Linked DNA regions of Homo sapiens: regions 1, 3 and 4 are each linked to region 2. The links are contacts of gene promoters, found by promoter capture Hi-C in human tissues and cell types (Jung and others, 2019). All regions are on one chromosome and are shown on one strand. Each heading gives the region's core, a stretch centred on a gene start or on the middle of the fragment in contact. The rest is flanking DNA. Distances are from core to core; before and after follow the strand shown.

Region 1 (6,154 bases), core at 948-3,447, 110 kb before region 2:
GTGTAGAGGGAAATTTATAGCACTAAATGCCCACAAGAGAAAGCAGGAAAGATCTAAAATTGACAACCTAACATCACAATTAAAAGAACTAGAGAAGCAAGAGCAAACAAATTCAAAAGTTAGCAGAAGGCAAGAAATAACTAAAATCAGAGCAGAACTGAAAGAGATAGAGACATAAAAAACCCTTCAAAACATCAATGAATCCAGGAGCTGGTTTTTTGAAAAGATCAACAAAGTTGATAGACTGCTAGCAAGACTAATAAAATGAAAAGAGAGAAGAATCAAATAGACACAATAAAAACTGATAAAGGGGATATCACCACCGATCCCACAGAAATACAAACTACCATCAGAGAATAATATAAGCACCTCTATGCAAATAAACTAGAAAATCTAGAAGAAATTCCTGGACACATACACTCTCCCAAGACTAAACCAGGAAGAAGTTGAATCCCTGAATAGACCAATAACAGGCTCTGAAACTGAAGCAATAATTAATAGCCTACCAACCAAAAAAAGTCCAGGACCAGATGGATTCACAGCCGAATTCTACCAGAGGTACAAAGAGGAGCTGGTTCCATTCCTTCTGAAACTATTCCAATCAATAGAAAAAGAGGGAATTCTCTCTAACTCATTTTATGAGGCCAATATCATCCTGATACCAAAGCCTGGAAGAGACACACAAAAAAAGAGGATTATAGACCAATATCCCTGACGAAAATCCATGCAAAAATCCTCAATAAAATACTGGCAAACCAAATCCAGCAGCACATCAAAAAGCTTATCCACCACGATCAAGTTGGCTTCAGCCCTGGGATGCAAGGCTGGTTCAACATATGCAAATCAATAAAAGTAATCCATCACAAAAACAGAACCAATGGCAAAAACCACGATTATCTCAATAGATTCAGGAAAGGCCTTTGACAAAATTCAACAGTGCTTCATGCTAAAAACTCTCAATAAACTAGGTATTGATGGAACATATCTCAAAATAATAACAGCTATTTATGACAAACCCCCAGCCAATATCATACTGAATGGGCAAAAACTGGAAGCATTCCCTTTGAAAACCAGTACAAGACAAGGATGCCCTCTCTCACCACTCCTATTCAACATAGTGTTGGAAGTTCTAGCCAGGGCAATCAGGCAAGAGAAAGAAATAAAAGGTATTCAATTACGAAATGAGGAAGTCAAGTTGTCCCTGTTTGCAGATGACATGATTGTATATCTAGAAAACCCCATCGTCTCAGCCCAAAATCTCCTTAAGCTGATAAACAACTTCAGCAAAGTCTCAGGATACAAAATCAATGCGCAAAAATCACAAGCATTCCTATACACCATTAACAGACAAACAGAGAGCCAAATCATGAGTGAACTCCCATTCACAATTGCTGCAAAGAGAATAAAATACCCAGGAATTCAACTAACAAGGGATGTGAAGGACCTCTTCAAGGAGAACTACAAACCACTGCTCAATGAAATAAAAGAATTTACACAAACAAATGGAAGAACATTCCGTGCTCATGGATAGGAAGAATCAATATCGTGAAAATGGCCATACTGCCCAAAGTAATTTATAGATTAAATGCCATCCCCATCAAGCTACCAGTGACTTTCTTCACAGGACTGATAAAAACTACTTTAAAGTTCATATGGAACCAAAAAAGAGCCCACATTGCCAAGACAATCCTAAGCAAAAAGAACAAATCTGGAGGCATCATGCTACCTGACTTCAAACTATACTAAAAGGCTGCACTAACCAAAACAGCATGGTACTGGTACCAAAACAGATATATAGACCAATGGAACAGAACAGAGGCCTCAGAAATAATGCCACACATCTACAACCACCTAATCTTTGACAAACCTGACAAAAACAAGAAATGGGGAAAGGATTCCCTGTTTAATAAATGATGCTGGGAAAACTGGCTAGCCATATGTAGAAAGCTGAAACTGGATCCCTTTCTTACACCTTGAAAAATTAATTCAAGATGGATTAAAGACTTAAATTTTAGACGTAAAACCACAAAAACCCTAGAAGAAAACCTAGGCAATACCATTCAAGACATAGGCATGGGCAAGGACTTCATGACTAAAAACACCAAAACCAATGGCAACAAAAGCCAAAATAGACAAATGGGATCCAATCAAACTAAAGAGCTTCTGCATGGCAAAAGAAACTACCATCAGAGTGAACAGGCAACCTACAAAATGGGAGAACATTTTTGCAATCTACCTATCGGACAAAGGGCTAATATCCAGAATCCTCAAAGAACTCAAAAAAATTTACAAGAAACAAACAACCTCATCAAAAAGTGGGCAAAGGATATGAACAGACACTTCTCAAAAGAAGACATCTATGCAGCCAACAGACATATGAAAAAATGCTCATCATCACTGGTCATCAGAGAAATGCAAATCAAAACCACAATGAGATACTATCTCATGCCAGTTAGAATGGCAATCATTAAAAAGTCAGGAAACAACAGATGCTGGAGAGGATGTGGAGAAATAGGAACGCTTTTACACTATTGGTGGGAGTGTAAATTGGTTCAACCATTGTGGAAGACAGCGTGGGGATTCCTCAAGGATCTAGAACTAGAATTACGATTTGACCCAGCAATCCCAGTACTGGGTATATACCCAAAGGATTATAAATCATGCTACTATAAAGACACATGCACACGTATGTTTATTGCGGCACTATTCACAATAGCAAAGACTTGGAACCAACCCAAATGTCCATCAATGATAGATTGGATTAAGAAAATGTGGCACATATACACCATGGAATACTATGCAGCCATAAAAAAGGATGAGTTCATGTCCTTTGCAGGGACATGGATGAAGCTGGAAACCATCATTCTCAGCAAACTATCACAAGGACAGAAAACCAAACACCGCATGTTCTCACTTATAGGTGGGAATTGAACAATGAGAACATTTGGACACAGGGTGGGGAACATCACACACTGGGACCTGTTGGGGGGTGGGGGACTAGGGGAGGGATAGCATTAGGAGAAATACCTAATGTAAATGAGGAGTTGATGGGTGCAGCAAACCAACATGGCACATGTATACCTATGTATCAAACCTGCATGTTGAGCTCATGTACCCTAGAACTTAAAGTATAATAAAAAAAATTTAAATTTAAATTTAAAAAAAGAAAGAAAGAAAAGAAAAGAAAAAGAAAAGAAAAATATTATCTGGGATTTGTTTCAAAATAATTTGAGAGAAGGGAATAAACGGAGGAGGCATTGGTGGTTGGGTTGGTAGTTGCTGGGGCTAAATGATGGTGTTCATGGGATTGGTTACACTATTCTATTTTTGTGGATGTTCACAAATCTCCATAATAGAAAAGTTTTTAAAATATATGCTACACAGATATACCATTTCTCATCTATTTGGCAAAAATTCAAAAGCTTAACAACACACTATACTGATGAGGCTGTAAGAAAATAGAAACTCTTACATTGCTGGCAAGAATGCGAAATGGTAAAACCCTATTGGGTGAATCTGGTATTATTTAACAAAATCATATATGCTTTTATCCTATGATCCAGCATTCCTATTTGGTACTGTAATGTGAAACATTTTAGGTATGATAAGACTTCCGGACCATTATAATGTACATTATAGGATAATGTAAATATGTTGATATGATTAATTATATTTAAAATAAAAGAAAACATTTATTTGTTATTAGGAACCAAGACTTTCATAGTGAGAGAAAACAGGTACAAACAAAAAACAGAAGAACAAACTGTGTACAATACGTCTGAATTAGAAATACTATGAACTAAATAATTCCTGAAGATATGATAGTAATAGAAAATGACTACTTTGTAATCCCAATGTCTCACTGATTTACACAAGCATCTTCAATGGACACTAAAACCACTAGATGATATGCTGTTAGGAAACAGAATATTCATAGTCTCAAAATATCACCCCACAGTTTTGTTACTAATTACAAACAATAAATGTATCTTTACATTGGAGAGATCTTATAGCCCCCACCTTTACCAAATAACTTGGTATCTATTGAATCTAGAAGCTAGGTGCTAATGGATACCACCTCTCTCTAAACAAACCAAGTATGGTATGATTCCACTGACAAGAAATATCCAGAATGGGCGAATCCATAAAGATAGAAGGTAGATTACTAGTTGCCTAGGTACAGGGAAATGAGTTGTTGTCTAAGAATGGGAGGGTAAAGGGTTTCTTTGGGGGAGACACAAATATTCTAAAATTGATTGTGGTGGTGTCCACATAACTGTGAACACACTAAATCACACATTTTAAATAAGTGAATTATATGGTGTGATACCTCAATACAGCTTTTTTAAAAAAAGAAAAAAATTATTAATAAATAATGTTGCCATTTGTGTCTAAAAAATAGGTATACACTTGAAAATGAATAAAATAGCCCATAAAATTATACTTCAGAAGCTGGTAACAGTGGTTGCCTCTATGGAGAGAATCAAGGTGCCTGGGGCGCAGGAGAGGGGAGGGAGACTTACTTTTTTAAATTAAGGTATAATTTACATACACTGCTATTCGCCCCTTTTAGTATACATTTCCCCCAGTTTTGACAAATGCGTGCAGCCATGGGGGCACACAGCAATGTACATATAGACTGCTTCCGTCACCCCTAATTTTCTCCTGTCCCTCTATAGTCAAGCCGTGGCACCACCCTCAGCCCCCGACAGCACTGATCTGTTTTCTGTCCCTACAGTTTTGCCTTTTCCATTATGTCACATGCGTGGGCTCAAACAGATGTAGCTTCTGAGAGACTTTTTTCTGCATTTTTTATTTCTTGAATTTTGTTTTATGTGTACATATTATCTATTCAAAAAATAGGTAACAGTTTTGGACAGCAAAAATCATCCTTATAAATAATCCATGGGCTAGAGAGAAAACCCAGTGGAAATCATAAAATATTTAGAACTGAATGATAATGAAGGTATTCATGAAATATCATTAATGAAATAGGTTTTGATACTATTATACGTACTGGAAATATCAAAACCCATGGATGCAGCAAAAATAATATCTGGGGTAAAATTTATAACCTTAAGTATGTTGATCAGAAAACAAACACTGCCAGGCACGGTGGCTCATGCCTGTAATCCCAGCACTTTGGGAGGCCGAGACAAGCAGATCACCTGAGGTCAGGAGTTTGGGACCTGCCTGGCTAACATGGCAAAACCCCGTCTCTACCAAACATGCAAAAAATTAACCGTCAGTGGTGGCACGTGCCTGTAATCCCAGCTACTTGGGAGGCTGAGGCAGGAGAATCGCTTGAACCCAGGAGACAGAGGTTGCGGTGAGCCAACATCGCACCATTGCACTCCAGCCTCGGCTACAAGAGTGAAACTCCGTCTCAAAAATAAAAGAAAAAAAAATAGAAAACAAACATTGTATTTTAAAAGATGCTAATGTGTCCTAAAAAGCCAAACAAAGCAGAATAAATGCAAAGATCTAGAAGGATATTATTATGAAATAATTAATAACAACAAGAATAAATGGAGATAATAAAAATACATGTGATTTGTATATTGATGCACAAAAGCAACTTAGGGTGGTGGAATGGACATTGGACTTAACACATTTATGCCGGAGGTCACAAATTTTTTTGTGTGAAAAATCAGACCTTGGCGATGACCTTGAGCAGTAGGATACAAATAACTCCCACAAGCTTAGCGTTCCAATAGTAGAACACTAGGCATCAATAACTTAAGACCTCTGAGACTCAGTTTCTTCACCTCCCAAATGGGGATAAAACCTCCTTTTTCCCAGTGGTAGGTAGGACTTACACCAATAAGGATTTAGCCGACCAGGCGTGGTGGCTCACTCCTGTAATCTCAGCACTTTAGGAGGCCGAGGCAGGTGGATCACCTGAGGTCAGGAGTTCGAGACCAGCCTGGCCAACATGATGAAACCCCATCTCTAGTAAAAATACAAAAAATTAGCCAGGCGTGGTGGCGGGCGCCTGTAATCCCAGCTACTTGGGAAGCTGAGGCAGGAGAATCGCTCGAAACTGGAGGTGGAGGTTGCAGTGAGCTGAGATCACACCATTGCACTCCAGCCTGGGCAACAGGAGCAAAACTCTGTCAAAAAAAAAGAAAAGGATTTAGCCATGGTAGAGCCC
Region 2 (6,274 bases), core at 2,462-4,961:
TCCTAGCACTTTGGGAGGCCAAGGTGGTCAGATCACTTTAGGTCAGGAGTTCGAGACCAGCCTGGCCAACATGGTGAAACCCCATCTCTACTAAAAATACAAAAACTAGCTGGGCATGGTGGCACGTGCCTGTAATCCCAGCTACCCGGGAGGCTGAGGCAGGAGAATCGTTTGAACCGGGGAGACAGAGGTTGCAGTGAGTCGAGATCGCACCACCGCACTCCAGCCTGGGGAACAAGAGTGAAACACCATCTCAAAAAAAAAAAAAAATGTATTGCAAAAGGCATTGGAGGCCACCATAAAGAGTTTGAACTTAGGACCTTGTTGGGAGTGAGAAGCCACAGGGCCTTTGGAATGAGGAGTGCCACAGAATAAAAATGGTGGTTTGAGGATACGTATGTATCTAGAGGGAAATTTGGCAAAATATATCATAATTTTGCTTGTTTATTTGTTTTTAGAGACAGAGTCTTGCTACGTTGCCCAGGCTGGACCCAAACTGGGCTCGCTGTATCTTTCCACCTCAGCCTCCCAAGTAGCTGGGACTACAGGTGCACACCACCATGCCTGGCTTGTTATTTTAAATAATAATAATAATAATGTTTTTGAAAGGTAGTATATACCCACAGTCAAACATTTCTAAGAGTTCAAAAATTAGGTTTCTCCCTGACTTCTCGTTTCTACCACCTCCTTTTATTTTCCACCTTACTTTTTGTTTTTAATTAGGCAATGTATCTAGGAGACTGTTTCATATCCACGTGCATCAGTCTGCCTCCACTTTTTAAATAGCTACATAGTATTTTATTACATGGATAGATCATAATTTATCCCATTAATGAAGACAGGAGAGTTTTCACTCTTTCTGTTATAATTAATGTTGCAATAAATATCCTCGTACTTAAATCTTTCCACACTTTTGGATCCATCTGTCGGACAAATTCCTGCACATGGAATTGCTGTCTTGAAGAATGGCTCCTCTCAACAATTTCACTTGGCAGAAATTGTCCCATCATAGAAGCACACAAAAATACATGCAAACAATTAAATTTCTTTATAAGGGCAAAAAAGTGGAAATGACCTAAATTCTTATAAATTTAAGAAGGGTTAGTAAAATTATGTAAATTCACACAAGAGATGACATTAATAATGACAGTGCATAGCTATATTCTATGATTTGAAAAGCTGTCATCTCAGCACTTTGGGAGGCCAAGGCGGGTGGATCACGAGGTCAGGAGATTGAGACCATCCTGGCCATGGTGAAACTCCATCTCTACTAAAAGTAAATTAAAAAAAAAAATTAGCTGAGCATGGTGGCGGGTGCCTGTAGTCCCAGCTACTTGGGAGGCTGAAGCAGAAGCAAGGTGAGAACCCGGGAGGTGGAGCTTGCAGTGAGCTGAGATCGAGCCACTGCACTCCAGCCTGGGCAACAGAACAAGACTCCGTCTCAAAAAAAGAAAAGAAAAGAGAGCACCATGTTTGGTCAAGCAAAAAGGACGGGTTACAAAACAGCTTCTGTGTATGATGCGATTCATGTAAATTTGTTGCCATGTGTATACAGCCGTATGCATGTATACTTTCTTCACTCCCTGTATTGCTTGAATTTTGTACCTGAGTATGTATTATCTCTATAGCCAGAAGAACAATTAAATTGCTTTTAAAGCATCTGATTATTCCCCAGGCACAGATTTTAATTTGTGAAGCACCCACTTTATGCCTGGCATTGGGGTACCCTGAGCCGCCCAAGGCTTTGGCTCCCGTCTGTCATCTCTAGCCTGATCATCAGAATCAGAGAATGTTGGAACTGGTAACACTTAGTTCACACCCGTATTTTACAGATGAAGGCAATAAGGCCCAGAGAAGGTAAGTGACCTGCTGAAGGTCACACAGCCAGTTTGGCCCAGAGATAACAGAACCCAGGACTCTACTGCCAGGCTATGATGCTCACTTCTAAACTGAGTATGGGCCGGGTGCAGTGGCTCTCACTTGTAATCTCGCACTTTGGGAGGCTGAGGTGGGCAGATCACCTGAGGTCAGGAGTTTGAGACCAGCCTGGCCAACATGGCGAAACTGTCTCTACTTAAAATACACAAAAAATTAGCCGGGCATGGTGGCACACGCCTGTAGTCCCAGCTACTCAGGAGGCTGAGGCAGGAGAATTGCTTGAACCCGGGAAGTAGAGGTTGCACCGAGCTGAGATCGTGCCGCTGCACTTCACCCTAGGTGACAGAGCGAGACCCTGTCTCAAAAAAAAAAAACGAGGAGTATGAATTATTATTTGGGGTCTCGAGCAGTGGGGCAGGCAGTGATTTTGATGCCCTGTCTTCTGGGAGCTCCCGTCCAAGCAAGCCCAGGATGAAAGATAAAAGGGCCCTGAATAAGACCATCATTAGTGGGGAGGAGCCTGACCCTGCATAGGCAGAAAAGCAGCTTCAGCAGGGCCCAGGGTCTACAGGGCAGCAGCCTGCAGGGTGTTGAGGAAGGAGCTGCCCTGGGCTGCTGCCAGATGTCAGTAATTATAAGGCTATGTGGGTCTGCAGACAGCTCATTAAAGACGCTTGATCTGCGTGAAACCAGGAAGCAGAACTCAGCCTCTTTGCCACTTTCTGTAAGAAATCCAACCACATCAAACACTTTGGGGTTTTTATGCAGTTTCCTGAATGTTGGGGTGATCCCAGGGAGCGGCCTCATCCTACTGTGCTCAGCACACGGTTGTCTCCTTACCCTTCCTTGTCTCTTTCCCTCGATTCTACCCCCTCCCACTTCCCCTTCCTCACTGGCCCAGGCCACATCCAGCCTTCGATAGCCCCAAGTCATCCATCAAAGCATTTCTCCGGCAAAAAGAAACCTACCCCACCGGCTTCCATGAAAATAAAATCCCCTCTATTTCATTAACAAAAGACCTCAGATGCCTTGAATTCCAGCACCTTCAAGCCCAGAATCTTAGACTTTGAGCTGGAATGGCCCTGAAGAATAATTGAGTCCAATCCCTTTAGTTTGTAGGTAGAAACACCAGGGTTCCAGGAGGGGAGAGGTCTTGTCCAAGGTCACGGGACACCCATGGCCACCAGGCCTCTAAGCTCCTGGCTGGAGGCCACTCACAAAGTCAGGGCAGATGGGCCTAGCTTCTGAGTCAGAACCAGCTCTCCCCTTTTTCTTATCTACCTCCTCTCAAGAGTCTAGTGTCCACCAAGGAAGTCTAGTGGCCCTGAAGGAGGATCATGGACCTCTGCCTCTTTAGATGCCTGCAGAACAGAGTGGAGCTGTGGGCCCAGGAGTCTTCTGCTCTCACCCAGGAGGGGAGAGGGAGCCACAGACTGACCCGGCACTGCAGCGTGCAACCATGTACTTCGGGGTCCTGGCGCTGAGCCTGTTTTTTCTCATTTGAGGGTTGTTGTGAGGGCTAAGAATGGCCAACCATAAATCCGAGTTCCCTCAGTCTTCTCTCTTTCCCCGTTCTTTTTCTTGCCAGGCTTGTGACCTTTCTGAGCCTCAGTTTCTCCACAGTCCCATTCGCAACTCCGTGTTTCCAAGGTCTCTTGGCAGGAGCCACTCCCACAGTGAACCCCTCTAGGTGCAATTACAGGATGATTTTGTGTCTCGTGGGTGTCGCTGCTAGGGTGGAGGGCCACGCCTCCTCTTTTGAATTCTGACTTTCCTGCCTAGGAGTGTCCCAAGGTTTTCCTTGTTAAAATTGGTCTGGCTGGCTGCTGTGACGCGCCACACTGTCCTGACGGTGCACACACTGCTGTGTGGAGGAACAGAGGAGTCCAGCTGGCCTTCACATGGCAGGTAAGTGGGCAGAGCCTGGGGCCTTGGGACACCAGGGCTCATGAGGGGGGCTTCAAGAAACACGGGTCTGTGGGATGACGTTTGATCATCGATTGTTAGGATTTTACAGCTGGATAGTCCACCATGAACACATGAACTCTTCGTGTGGATTCATGAGGCCCAGGATGAAAAAGCCAGCTTTAAGCCACCCAGCAAGGCCATGGCCCAGGCTGGCTCAGGCGCTGTCTCCTGGGCTGGGGCCAGGTCTCACCCCTGTGCCTCGGAGGACTGAAGGAGGCAGGCACAGGAAGGCAGGGGCAGAAAAAAGAAAATCTCCTTGCACCCCATGCACATTCCATGGATCCAGAGACGTTTCTGGGCATAGTTGGGAATTGTGGCCTGCGTGGGAAGGAGTGAGAGGCCCCCACCGGCTGCATCCTCGCCTGATTCCCACCCCAAGCACTTGAGGGCAAGAGCAGCTCTGGCTCAAGTGAAAACAGCTATATGACCTTGAGCAAGAAAATTTGCCCTTGGTACCTCTGTTTTCTGATCTGTGTAATGGGGATTATAATGCAAATTATCTCACAGCCTTGCTGTGAGGAGTTGGTGAGACCACGTGTGCTGTTCTCCCACCACACATCTCAAGTGGGGACTTGTAAACAGTAGACTCAGAAAATGTGGGTCGGGCACAGTGGCTCACGCCTCTAATCCCAGCATTTTGGGAGGCTGAAGGGGGTGGAATTCTTGAGCTCAGGAGTTTGAGACCAGCCTGGGCAATGTGGCAAAACCCCGTCTCTACAAAAAAATACAACAATTAGCTAGGCATGGTGGGGAACACCCAAAGTCCCAGCTACTTGGGAGGCTGAGGTGAGAGGATCGCTTGAGCTTAGGAGGTAGAGGCTACAGTGAGCCAAGATGGTGCCACTGCACTGCAGGCTGGGCAACAGAGTGAGACCCTGTCTCAAAAAAAAAAGAAAGTAAGATAATGTGTCCCCCACGACCTCAATATAGTGAGCAGCAAACTCCCTCTGCAAGAACTTGTCTTAGATGCTGGGGCCCGGTAATGAGCAAGTCAGCAGAACCAGGGGTCCTACACTCACAGGTATTCAAGGGGTGTTTCTGAGTCTGTGTCTGCCAGTTTTAATTGTTCAGCATTATGTGACAGTTTTATGAATCAAATATTTTTTTAACTTTCAAAGGCAGATATTTGAATTTCCTCATCATAGTCTAGCTTCCTCTTCATATTTCCTCCTGGCAGTTAACAGCATTGCTGGACGTGTTGGGCCCTTCAGGCTCCTAGGATAGGTCTGTTCTGAAGACCAGGCCTTGCCAACACCAGCTCACAGCCCAGACTGCCTGTTTCCAGAGCTGGGGTTGCCTCCCTGATGGCCCTGGTGCAGAGGGGATTGCCTTTGTTCCTCCAAGATCTGCTTCTCAAAGTTCACCTAGATGATCCCTCTTCCCTGGGCCTTTGATAACCTATCAGACTTAAACTTGACAGTGCGAAGGTTAGTTTCTGAGGAAGGAAAAAAGTTGATGATGATGCCCATTGTCAGGTCTGTAACTAACTTGCTGGGTTCCTCTCTCTGAAGCTCTGTTTCTCCGTCTGTGAAATGTCAGCATTGGAGTTGTCATGCCTATGTAAATGGACTATGTGTTGGATTGGATTCAATTCCTGGGTCTTCTGGGTCCTCTTGGCTTCTTGGGAGGATCTGTTCCTCAGAGCAGTAGGTCCTGCCTACCACACACTCTGTGCCTGAATGACTGAGACATCAGATCCTAGATGGAAAGTGTATTCATCTTCCTGGAGCTCCTTCTATCCCCCCTCCCTCACTCCATCCATGGTGGACATCCCTAGTTGACCCCAGAGCTCTTCCCTCTGGAGCCTGGATGTGGCCCCAGAATGCTCAACCCAGCTCTTTAAGTACCAGTTGATCAGTGTTGGCAAAGGAGGTGAGACCCTTTTGCCATGATTAAATTACAATCATCTTTCAGCTCAGAGATTCCAAGAATTGAGTGGAATACTGTATGTGAGGCTGGCTCTGGCTGGGACATTGGGTTGGAGTTGATGAGTCACTGCCTCCTGGTGAAAGAGAGGCCAGCAGCTTCCAACAAGACCAGGAAGGAAAGAGAGATGGGGCAGTGGCCCCAGAAAGGCCCCAGGCAACTCTCGATAAATCATTTAGTCATGGAGTTCAGGTGCTCATGATGCGTACTAAGCATAGGATTATAATGGGGCCCATTAAAAACCAATTATGCTTAGTCCAGAGTCTGGAAGATGCCACTGGCTTCAACAGAGTTTCCAGGGCTCAAGCCCACTGGCCTGAGACAAAGAATTGGGGAGGATTGTATCATTCAGCTCTCTGGTATCACCCAAGGGCAGGAGGAGGAAGATGGATGAGCTAGGCTTGGGGGTGGGGATGGGTGGAGAGCTAAGTCGGCAGGAGGCAATGTTCTGCACATGGACCCTTCCCTTTCTTAGGTGGAGCTCTGGGGCCAGCTGGTGAGC
Region 3 (3,959 bases), core at 1,460-3,959, 85 kb after region 2:
GAAAGAGTTAGAAGAGTACAGTACAATGCAGCTTCCCACTCTCCTCCCCAACTTGGGGAAGGACAGTGGGAAATAACAGACACCAAATCCCTTAATGCTACAACTCTCAGCACCAGACTTCCCATCCAAAACCACATGTCGGGAAAGATCAAGCTTGAATGCCCAACTCCCATCTTCTAGACCTGAATGTAAGCATGTCCAATCCAAGTGAGAGAAGGCAACTGCATTTTCAAATATGACTCATGATTTCAAATGCTGTCATGGAAATATTTTCCTTAAATACAGTTGGCTAATTCGTACATCTCTTTAATAGCATCAACATAATTTACAATGGCAACTTATCCTTTTCACTTGCTTCTAGGGCCATGTATAAACCACAGTGAAACACTGATAGTCTGACAATCACAGGTTGGTCACTCTGGACCCTTTTAAAACTATGGACCCTCCCCTTTATCCTTTATTTTAGCCACCAGGAGGTGGTACCCTTTCCCCAACTCCTCACCTGTTGGGATGGCCCGCCAACCCCACGGACTGGCCCAGCAAGTCCTGCAGGAGCCTGGGGCATGGGAACCCCAGCTGGGATTCCTCTGCCAGCAGCCCTGCCGATCCCTGGGCCCCCGGCAGCTCCAGCAAGTGGAACTCGAGCAATACCAGTCTGAAAAATAAACAAATATGCTCTGATGCCCAGTGATCTGAAGATCAGAAGTATACTTTGGAATATCATTGCCAAGAGAGCCCCTCGAAATAGCTTATAAATACTATCGAAATAGCTTATAAATACTACCTCTCCATGTGTGCCAACACCATTCTTCCTCCATCCAAGACTATGAGTTATCCCTGAAGCAGGGTAGAACTTAAGAGTAAGTCTAGAGAAACATGCCACAACTCAACCACCTATATGCACTCCTGTGAAAGTTAAACCAAGAGCAAAGGGCCAGGGTTCCACTCAGGGTTCAGCAGGCAAGGCATTAAAGGGACATGAGATCCATTCCCAGCTGATTCTAATCCGCTAGGTGACAATGGACAAATAATCCCACAATCCCGGGCTGAGTTGCCTTATCTGCAAATGACATGGTTATGGTACAACTGGTTGTGATCACAAAGGTTTATGATGGGTTATGTTAGACCAGCCAATTCTACTGGAAGTAGGTACTAAGAGATTTGAATATGTACATGGACTTTGAACCAAGATATGCTAACATCCCTTGCAGACATTTTTAACTGGAAAAGGCAAAAACGTAAAAATCTCCAAAAAAGAAAATGATTAGGATAAACTACTCTGTACTCATTTGAGAAAATCTCAGTCATTAACTTGACTTTAAAAGTGTTGAGCAACTAGAAAAATGTTAACATTAAGTGAAAACACAGAACAACATAATATATGCCCACTATGTGTTAAGTACAAAAAAATCCAGATAATATATGTGGATTTTTAAAAAGTTAAAAGGATTATTCTCTTTTGATTAAAATAACGTCTTGGCAGGGCGTGGTGGCTCACATCTGTAATCCCCGCTACTCGGGAGGCTGAGGCAGGAGAATCACTTGAACCCGGGAGGCAGAGGTTGCAATAAGCCAAGATCGTGCCACTGCACTCCAGCCTGGCGACAGAGCGAGACTCCATCTAAAAATCTAAAAAAAAAAAAAAAAAAAACCCTTCAAATGAAAAAGGGAAAGGGAAAACAAATTTGACTAGGTCTCTAAAGCCTGCTCTATTTCTATGTGTAGCTTGGTGTTTACAGAATCAAGACTGTCTGAGATCAAATGTCAGTTTCACCACTTAGTGGCTGTGGCACCTTGGGCAAGTTACTAAGCCCTGGTTTATTCTATTTATAAGATGAGAATTTATCTCTAAAGAGACCTAAAGGATCAAATAAAATACTGAAGTGGTTGGCGCAAGGTAGATTCTCAGTAACTATGAACTGTAACTGTACAAAACAAAATACACACATTTCCTATTGTTTCGGAGTTACAACTTTTTAAGGTCTACCTAGGCTTTGTCGTCACATTAAGAACTGACCCAGATGGCTTCAGGTGCTTCCTCCACTGACTCACTATGTACATCAACTGAGAAACAGGTAGAGCTTTAAAGTCTGAGATACCCAAATTCTAGTTCCCCTTTTCCACTTCTTTCTTGCAGGGTAACCTCTTTTTTTTTTTTTTGTCTTTTTTTTTTTCTTCCTTTTTCTGGAGAATGGGGTCTCGCTATATTGCCCAGGCAGGTCTCGAACTCCTGGGCTCAAGCTATCCTCCCGCCTCTTGCCTCCCTGAGAGCTGGGATTACAGATGTGAGCCACCGCGCCCGGCCTCTTGCAGGGTAACCTCTTTAAGATTTCATTTATTATCTGAAAAAGGGGGCAAAATCCAGAGGATGCCTGTGAGAACTGCAATGAAACAGAATCTAACACAGAGCCTGGCTCACAGTAGGGCCTCCCCTCCTCCACAAGGCTTCCTGCTCTGACTTACATCTTTGGGAGGAGGTCCCTCTACTGTCATTGAGACCAGATTCTCCCCTCGCAGCAGCACCAGACCGAGGACTCGCTTCTCTTCCCTTTCTGCTTGTTTGGAGTTCTTTGGCCTAAAGAGAGGTTTAGAAGGAACAAAAAAAGTGTTAGAGGTGGGTAAAGTTCACCTGCCTAGTGGCCTCCAAGATTTGCTTATACTGCATCTCCTAACAAACAGTACACAAACTTTCCCAAGATAGCCCTCCTGGATAGTCTCTACAGGCTGAACACATAACCTCTTAGGTGGCTATCTACCTGTTTCCTACCATGCCAAGAGGACACACTGACCAAGAGATAGGACAAGGTCAACAAAGCCCAGCCCGGGCCCAAATGCTATTCCACAGCAACCGTGAAGGCCCTTCCCTCAGCCAAGTCTTCTTTCTTAGGACCCTATTCCCTCCCTTCAGCTTAAGGTCTTGCCAACATCAGGAGGCTGCCTAAACAATTCCAATCAAATGACTCCCACCCACCTCACTTACGTGCAGTGTCCTTCTAATATCAATTCAACCTCACAGGCCTATAATTCTGCCCCTCATCTTACATCAGAAATAGGAGAAGCCATAGAAGGAAAAGGTTAAGAGAAATTTCACATACACAGAAATTGAAATTTCATATCTGTTCCTCAAAAGCATAAAAACAGAAACCCCCAAAAAGCAACAACCAGAAAAAGATGAACAAAATATAAATGTGAAGTAGGAAAAATAACTGCAACAGGATAGGAAAGTGGGGAAAAAAGCTAAAGCTAGATCCTAAAAATAAAGGGGAAAAAATAGCCTGATTTAAAAAAAGAACTCAAAAGATTTTGTTTTGATATTTTACAGTATATTAACTGGTTGTCTGTGGATGGACAGTTTTTCCCTTTTTTGGCTCACATTTTCTTATTTTTTAAAATAATAACCATGTATTGTCCTTTCATAATTAGAAAAAAACCCTTCGGGGTATTTTAGTTTCTATTCATAGACTTCTTTGTATTTTCAAAAATATTTTCCAATAAACATTTTTTATAATCAGGAGGGAACTTTGGAGTAGCTCCACGCTCATCTGTTGGCCCCTCTCTAATACGTACCTGGCACCAAGGCATCCCTACCACATTTTTAAACTATACTTCTTGACCTTGGGTCACAGAAGAAATCAGCCCCAAGGAGAATCAAAGGGAATTCAAAGTGAGTGACAGAATAATATGGACACTGCATATGACAAAAGAGCTGCTGGCCACGGAAGTCACATCATCTTTTTGTGCCTCAAGTAGCCTTGAATGTAAAACATGATGGGAAGCTAAATCATATCTTTTAATGGGCCAAAAGCTTAAGATCTGTGAGACTCAAGGCAAGGGAGTTAGCCAATAACTTACGGAATTGTAGCAAAGTAGACAATATCTCCAATTGTTTGTATAAATGCCAACAAAAATCACTGGCCCCAAACCCACATGGGGAGCTGAGCACTTACCCTGAAGAGGGT
Region 4 (6,127 bases), core at 2,951-5,450, 100 kb after region 2:
CCTGGGCCACATCTGAGGTCGCTATAGGTTATGGGGGATTTCAGTAAAAAACAATAATTCTGCATCATTTTTTTCTTTCCACTCCTTTTTTCAAAAGTAAGAGCTAGTTTTCTTGTTTGCTTTTTTCTTTCCCAATGGTAGGAGGAATGTTGGGATTGTCCGGAATGGGGAGGGCCTACCCCTTCCCTCTTCAAAACCCTAGAGATTATATGCCTGCATATACTTTTCCCTCAGTGGCCTCCAATTCTGATCAGAAGTTGGTGTTATAGGGGCAGTTCTGGCAAAGGGTGGGGGCCCACACTCCCAGACATGCACATCCTTTTCCCTCATCAGACCTGACTGAGGAGCCACTGCGTAATTGATGCTATGGTGTGAATGTCTCCTCCAAAATTCATGTTGAAATTCAATTGCCATTATGATGAGATTTATGGGTGGGACCTTTAAGAGATGATTAGGTTACGAGGGCTGAGCCCTCAAGAACAATGCCAATATCACAGGAGTGGATTAATTATACTGGAGTGGGCTCCTGATAAAAAGGGTAATTCCAGCCCCCTTTTGCTCTCTGTCTCACATATTCGCTTGCTCTGCTGTCTTCACCATGGGATGATGCAGCATAAAGGCCCCCACCAGGTGCTGGCACCATGCTCTTGGACTTCCCATCCTCTAGAACCATAAGCCAAATAAGTTTTTGTACATTATAAATCACTCAGTCTGTGACATTCTGTTATAACAGCAGAAAACAGATTAAGACAGCTAACTTCATGCCTGGGGGAGGCAAGTGGGGAGAGGCCTTGGAGCCAGTAACTCTTTCTTTTTTCATCCTCTCCTTGAATGAGGTGTCCAAAACACTTCATGCTTCTTCTGATTTTCCAAGCCTGATATGCATTTTATGGATCTTGCAAACTCCAATTGGGCAAACAAAGTTGCTGGAGCCTAGGAAGACCCTCTCCAGTGAATAGTTATTGGTCCAAGACAGAAAATCAGAGCCAGGGCATGTGGAGTTTATTCAAAAGTCTGGGCAATTTGGGCTCTGAGGGAGGAAGATTTTAAAAGGGTGTGGCTAAAGGGCAGATCCTTGGCCTGAAAAACAATGGACGGAGTATGGCTAGGTTGCCTCAGACCAGTTATTAAAGGGATGATGTGTGGGTATCATTAGCAGGACTGGGCCCTAGAATTGGAGGGCCAAGGGGACATGGTATCGGAGCTATGTTTAGGGGTCTTTACATCTATTATTGTTGATCTGACATGGGGAGTAGCTAAGAGGCCCAAAGCAATGACTCATGACTAGAGAACAGTTTGGGCATGGTTAAAGGACCTGCCTCTGCAATCTGGAAGGCTGCAGAGGGGATGTGGTTAAAGGGTCCCTGGAACTGGAGGACATGAGCAGATCATTAAGGACTGCAAAAATTCAGTGGAATAGAGAAGTATTCAGCAAAGACACCTGCAGAAAGAAAGAAAAAGAGAGAAGGCAAGATGGGGAGAGAAAGAGAAACACACAAAGAGAGAGAGAGAATACCTAGGGAAGGAAGCTTTCACAGAAGCTGAAGAAAGTGATCAGTCTGGAGAAGAGGCAGCCCAGCCCTGGAGACCTGGAAAATCCCCTCCCTGCAACTGGCCTGTCTCTAGAACCTAATCACTCCTCCACATGAAAAGGATCAAATTCTCCAAAAAAATCTATTAGATTGATTCTCAAGGGTTGAATTTATGCAGGAAACCCTGACTGTGAATTTGAATTCCTTGCACCCTTTCAGTCAGATGAGTGGCCAAGCTACACAGCCTGAACTTATTGAAGAAATTTTGAACTAAAACAAAGGGATAAGAAAACACGGGAAAGAACTGGTATATGAAAATAAAACAAGTTGATCATTTTTTGATTACTTAAATAAAGCCTGCTTTTTTATTTCATCTGATTCCAAGAAGTAGAAAAGAATGCTTATTTAACAGTTACTGCCATCTTCGCTCACATACAGAGTACATGGGGGAGTCAAGACATTTCCTGAAAATCCCTCAGAGGTGAGTGAGGTAGTGACTTGGGGTAGCAAGACTGTCCTCCTAAGTCAGTTGAGGAGTGACATCGGGATGAAGCTCCACCCACAAGCCCTGCCCACAGAGGTCTTCTCCCTGAGTGTGTCCTCCTTTAGTACAAGATGAGGTTTAACTTATTGCTAATGTGTTTCACATTTTCCCTCCCCACCCATGTAAAGCTTGTCCCAAAAAAGCTGTTCTTTGATGAGGACTTTTTCCTAAGTCCTTGTCCATTCTCCCCACACATGCAGAATTTCTATTCAATATACTCTGGGGCTTACTGCGGGGTGACTCATGGCTGAAGCCTTATCTACACTCCTTATATACCTAACATGTCTTAGAATCAATTATCTGGACAGACAACGAGACAGAAAATTGAGGATTCACTGGGGAGTGAGGGCAGGACTGGGCAGAGGAAGAAGCTGACCTGCAATGTGTCTGCAACCCAGTGATCCTTCAGTTCGATGGGGATCTCTGGATCTGGAATGACCTTCTGGAGTTGTCCCCGTTGAGTCAAGGGTTGGGGCCAGAAGGTACCCCTGCAAAGGTGCATTGCCCCTGTGGTGCATGCAGCTCCCTGTGGCTGAGAGTGAGTTCCAGAGCGGAGTGCATCTCTGGAATGCATCTCTGCCAGCAGCAACACTGTTCTCTCAAGCAGCTGGGGTGTTACCCCTGAAAAGGTCATCTGGGCAGAGCTCCACAGTGTCCCCACATGCAGATTCTCCCTGTGGTGTGTGATCACAAAAGCTTTGCCCATACATCCTACAAACAAAGACCTCCTTCCTGAGGGCCACTCTGTGCCTGAGTGTCCATTCTTTTACTGATGCTCCCCAACACTCCCCAGACAAGGGTGCTTTCCCCTGAGGCTGTCATTGGATGTCTGGTAAATGTTGATTATTGCTAAAGCCTTCCCACAGTCCCTACACATAAACTTCTCTCCTAAGTGTGTCCTTTTGTGCATGCTCAAGGCTGACTGATGGCTACAGTTGCCCGTACTCTATACTCATAAGGCTCCTCTCCTGAACGTGTCCCTCCCATGCCTGATAAGGGCTGACACATCTCTGGAACTTCACTCACAATCTGTGTACACAGGGTCTACTCCCCATGTGTCTCTCTGGGGTAACATGAGGCTTGACTGGTCACTCAGGTCTTGTTCATGACCCCTGCATACACAGGTTTCTCCCGTCAGTGTGTCCTCTGGTGTCTGATGAGATTTGACTTATGACTAAAGCCTCGCCCACACTCCCTACAAACATAATGCTTCTCCCCTGAGTGTGTCCTCTGGTGGACAAGGAGGAGTGATTTCCGGCTAAAGCCTCGGCCACACTCACTGCACACGTAAGGCTTCTCTCCTGAGTGTGTCCTCTCATGTACAATGAGGGTTGACTTGTCACAAAAGCCTCGCCCACATTCCCTGCAAATATAAGGCTTCTCATTTGAGTGCGTCCTCTGGTGTCTGATGAGATTTGACTTCTGGCTAAAACCTCGCCTACACTCCCTGCAGACATAATGCTTCTCCCCTGAGTGTGTCCTCTGGTGGACAAGGAGGAGTGATTTCCGACTAAAGCCTCGGCCACACTCACCACACACATAAGGCTTCTCTCCAGAGTGCGTCCGCTCGTGTATGATGAGGGTTGACTTGTCACAAAAGCCTCGCCCACACTCCCTGCAAACATAAGGCTTCTCATCCAAGTGTGTCCTCTGGTGTTTGATGAGATCTGAGTTCTGGCTAAAGCCTCGCCCACACTCCCTGCAAACATAAGGCTTCTCCCCTGAGTGTATCCTCTGGTGTTTTCTGAGGGTTGACTTATCACAAAAGCTTCGTCCACACTCCAGGCACACATAGGGTTTCTCACCGGAGTGTGTCCTCTGGTGTCTGATGAAGGATGACTTCTCGCTAAAGCCTCGCCCACACTCGCTGCAAACATAGGGCTTCTCCTCTGAGTGAGTCCACTGATGTCTATTGAGGATGGACTTACTTCTAAAGCTTTGCCCACACTCCCTGCACAAATAAGGCTTCTCTTCTGAATGTGTTCTCTGGTGTCTGCTGAGGTTGGACTTCTGGCTAAAACCTCGCCCGCACTCACTGCACACATAAGGCTTCTCCATCGAGTGTATACGATGGTGTCTGATGAGGGTTGATCTATCTTTAAAGCTTCGCCCACAATCACTGCAAATGTAGGGCTTCTTCCCTAAGAGGGTCCTCGGGTTTGTAATAAAGTTTGATTCCAGGTTATGGTCCGGTTCATACTCTCTACAGTTGATTGCTCCAAATCTCAAGGTTTCTAATTCCTTCAAGCCTTTGTCTAGCTGCACAGGGTTTGGTCTTTGGGCTGAGCTGGGCTCTGTTTCTACCACCATGTTGCCTTTTCTAGGACTTGCTGACTGTCTTTGGAGTGGGCTGGGGAATGCCCTTGAGGTTTCTCTCTCCTCTGTCCTTGCAGACCAGGGTTTGGAGCCACCTCCTCTCTCCTGACCTTCTGCATTTTCAAACCAACAGCTTACATGGGAATACTGCTGCCCCTGCTGTTTCCAATGCCCTGGGCTAGAATTCCCTGGATGGAAGTGATTTTCTGCACATAAGCCCAGGAAGATCTGAAGTACATGTTGACTGAGGAACTGCTGACAGGAGAAGGCCAGAAGGCAGGAGGAACAAGTGTAGATTTCTGGCTTTGGTTCTGCTGAAGAATGAAAGTTTTCTGTTAGAGTAGCCATAAGTAGGGCTGCTGAGTTGTTCTGCCTTGTCTTAGGACAGAGAATGTTTTACTGCCATGCCTATAATTGATAATATAAGTATAACACAATTTGCTTCTGAACAATGATTCCTTTACATTCCATCACATTTTCTATTGCAATCCAGAAAATCCATAACAAAAATATCTTGAGAAACCAGGAACCTCTCAAGTGAGTATTCTGCTCTGTAAACAGCTTCAATCATAGTTAGCCTTCTCCTAAGCCATAGACATTCACATTGGTATATACTGTCCACAGCTCTTTGTTCTGCTTGGAGATAGTGGTCTCTATGACACATGTGGAAATCTCCTTCATGACTTTTCTTATTATATAAAAAAGGGTCTGATAGACATAAAAAGTCCCTCATTCTGGAGGGCTTCCGAATGTAGGAGAAAGTGTATGGAATACTGGTTAAAGAAATTATTGTATATAAAACAAATATAAATTTCAGGCTGCCCACCTGTAAACAAAGACTTATTAGAAAATGCCAAAGTACTAGGTTCTCTACTAAGTATTATGAATTCAGTAATGAACAAGAAAGACATGGTCCATGATTTTAGGATTCTGGCACCAAGCCAAAACAACAAAATCTGCCTTTCTTTCCACTTTTCATAAATCAGTAAAAAGAAAAACTTTTCATTTACAGCAGCACCTGCCTACAAAATATCAAAACTAGATGTTGCATTTCATCACAACATGATCTATCCAACTGATGCTGAGAAATGACCACGTACTTGGCCCCAGACCCTACTGGGCCTAACTGAAGACTTCTGCCTAACTAATGAACACTGGAATCTTTATAATCAACTGTATCTGTCCTTAAAAACTCATCCTATCCTATCTGGAATGCTAGTTTTCAAACCTTAATTAGCATAACCATCATGAAACTGCTCCCTAACAGTAAAACCTTTTATTTTTCCCCCTTGCCAAACTATACAGTGAATTTCTTCACTGCTGTGTCTCCTTTCCTGTTAAGTAAATGATTTGTGCCATTTGATTTTTTGACCTTTTGTGGTCTTTGTTTTAGTTTTTGACAATGTGTTTTCCCTTTGGTTGCTCTGACAAGGCACCGACCAGTGCTGGAACTGCTGGACTGCCAGAGGAACACAGCTGTGTGTAGACTGAGCCGTATGTGCTCAAAGCTGCTTGTCTGGCAGCCTTGCCATGGGTGAGGCTCTCAGCAGCTGTCAGGCTCTGCTTGCTGTCACTGAGCACTCCCTGAGTCTGTTTGGTTTACTTGGGTTCTCAAAGTAACTCATTATTTGTTTCTATTTCTGACCCGTCATCTCTTATAAGACTTGTGGTCATTCTGGTACTTTGTGACGTGAACTTTTTGCCTTGATATTTTGACTGTGATTCGCTGCCATCT

Evidence for each region. The method cuts DNA at HindIII sites, captures the fragments that hold promoters and counts their contacts. A contact is called where the count stands out against the background at its distance.
Region 1: a fragment that was not itself captured here is called in contact with the fragment with the promoter of TGM6 in region 2 in 2 of the 25 tissues and cell types used here (aorta and dorsolateral prefrontal cortex).
Region 3: a contact is called between a fragment that was not itself captured here and the fragment with the promoter of TGM6 in region 2, in 3 of the 25 tissues and cell types used here (H1 embryonic stem cells, bladder and mesendoderm cells).
Region 4: a contact is called between a fragment that was not itself captured here and the fragment with the promoter of TGM6 in region 2, in 2 of the 25 tissues and cell types used here (H1 embryonic stem cells and small bowel).

What each region holds. Positions count from the first base shown.
Region 1 is chr20:2,267,464-2,273,617 of GRCh38, forward strand. No RefSeq gene overlaps it. Among named protein-coding and RNA genes, the nearest start is that of TGM3, 25 kb to the right of the region's middle. The HindIII fragment of the contact is 4,728 bases long and covers 1-4,561 here.
Region 2 is chr20:2,377,190-2,383,463 of GRCh38, forward strand. It overlaps TGM6 (transglutaminase 6), which reads left to right and starts at 3,712. Exons shown (of 13, transcript NM_198994.3): 1 at 3,712-3,786. The coding sequence starts at 3,780. The HindIII fragment of the contact is 30,296 bases long and covers 1-6,274 here.
Region 3 is chr20:2,463,245-2,467,203 of GRCh38, forward strand. It overlaps SNRPB (small nuclear ribonucleoprotein polypeptides B and B1), which reads right to left. Exons shown (of 7, transcript NM_003091.4): 3 at 2,464-2,575; 4 at 503-655. Among named protein-coding and RNA genes, the nearest start is that of SNORD119, 2.2 kb to the left of the region's middle. The HindIII fragment of the contact is 5,678 bases long and covers 1-3,959 here.
Region 4 is chr20:2,479,951-2,486,077 of GRCh38, forward strand. ZNF343 (zinc finger protein 343) reads right to left here. Exons shown (of 6, transcript NM_024325.6): 6 at 1,867-4,706. The coding sequence ends at 3,211. Among named protein-coding and RNA genes, the nearest start is that of SNRPB, 12 kb to the left of the region's middle. The HindIII fragment of the contact is 4,668 bases long and covers 1,867-6,127 here.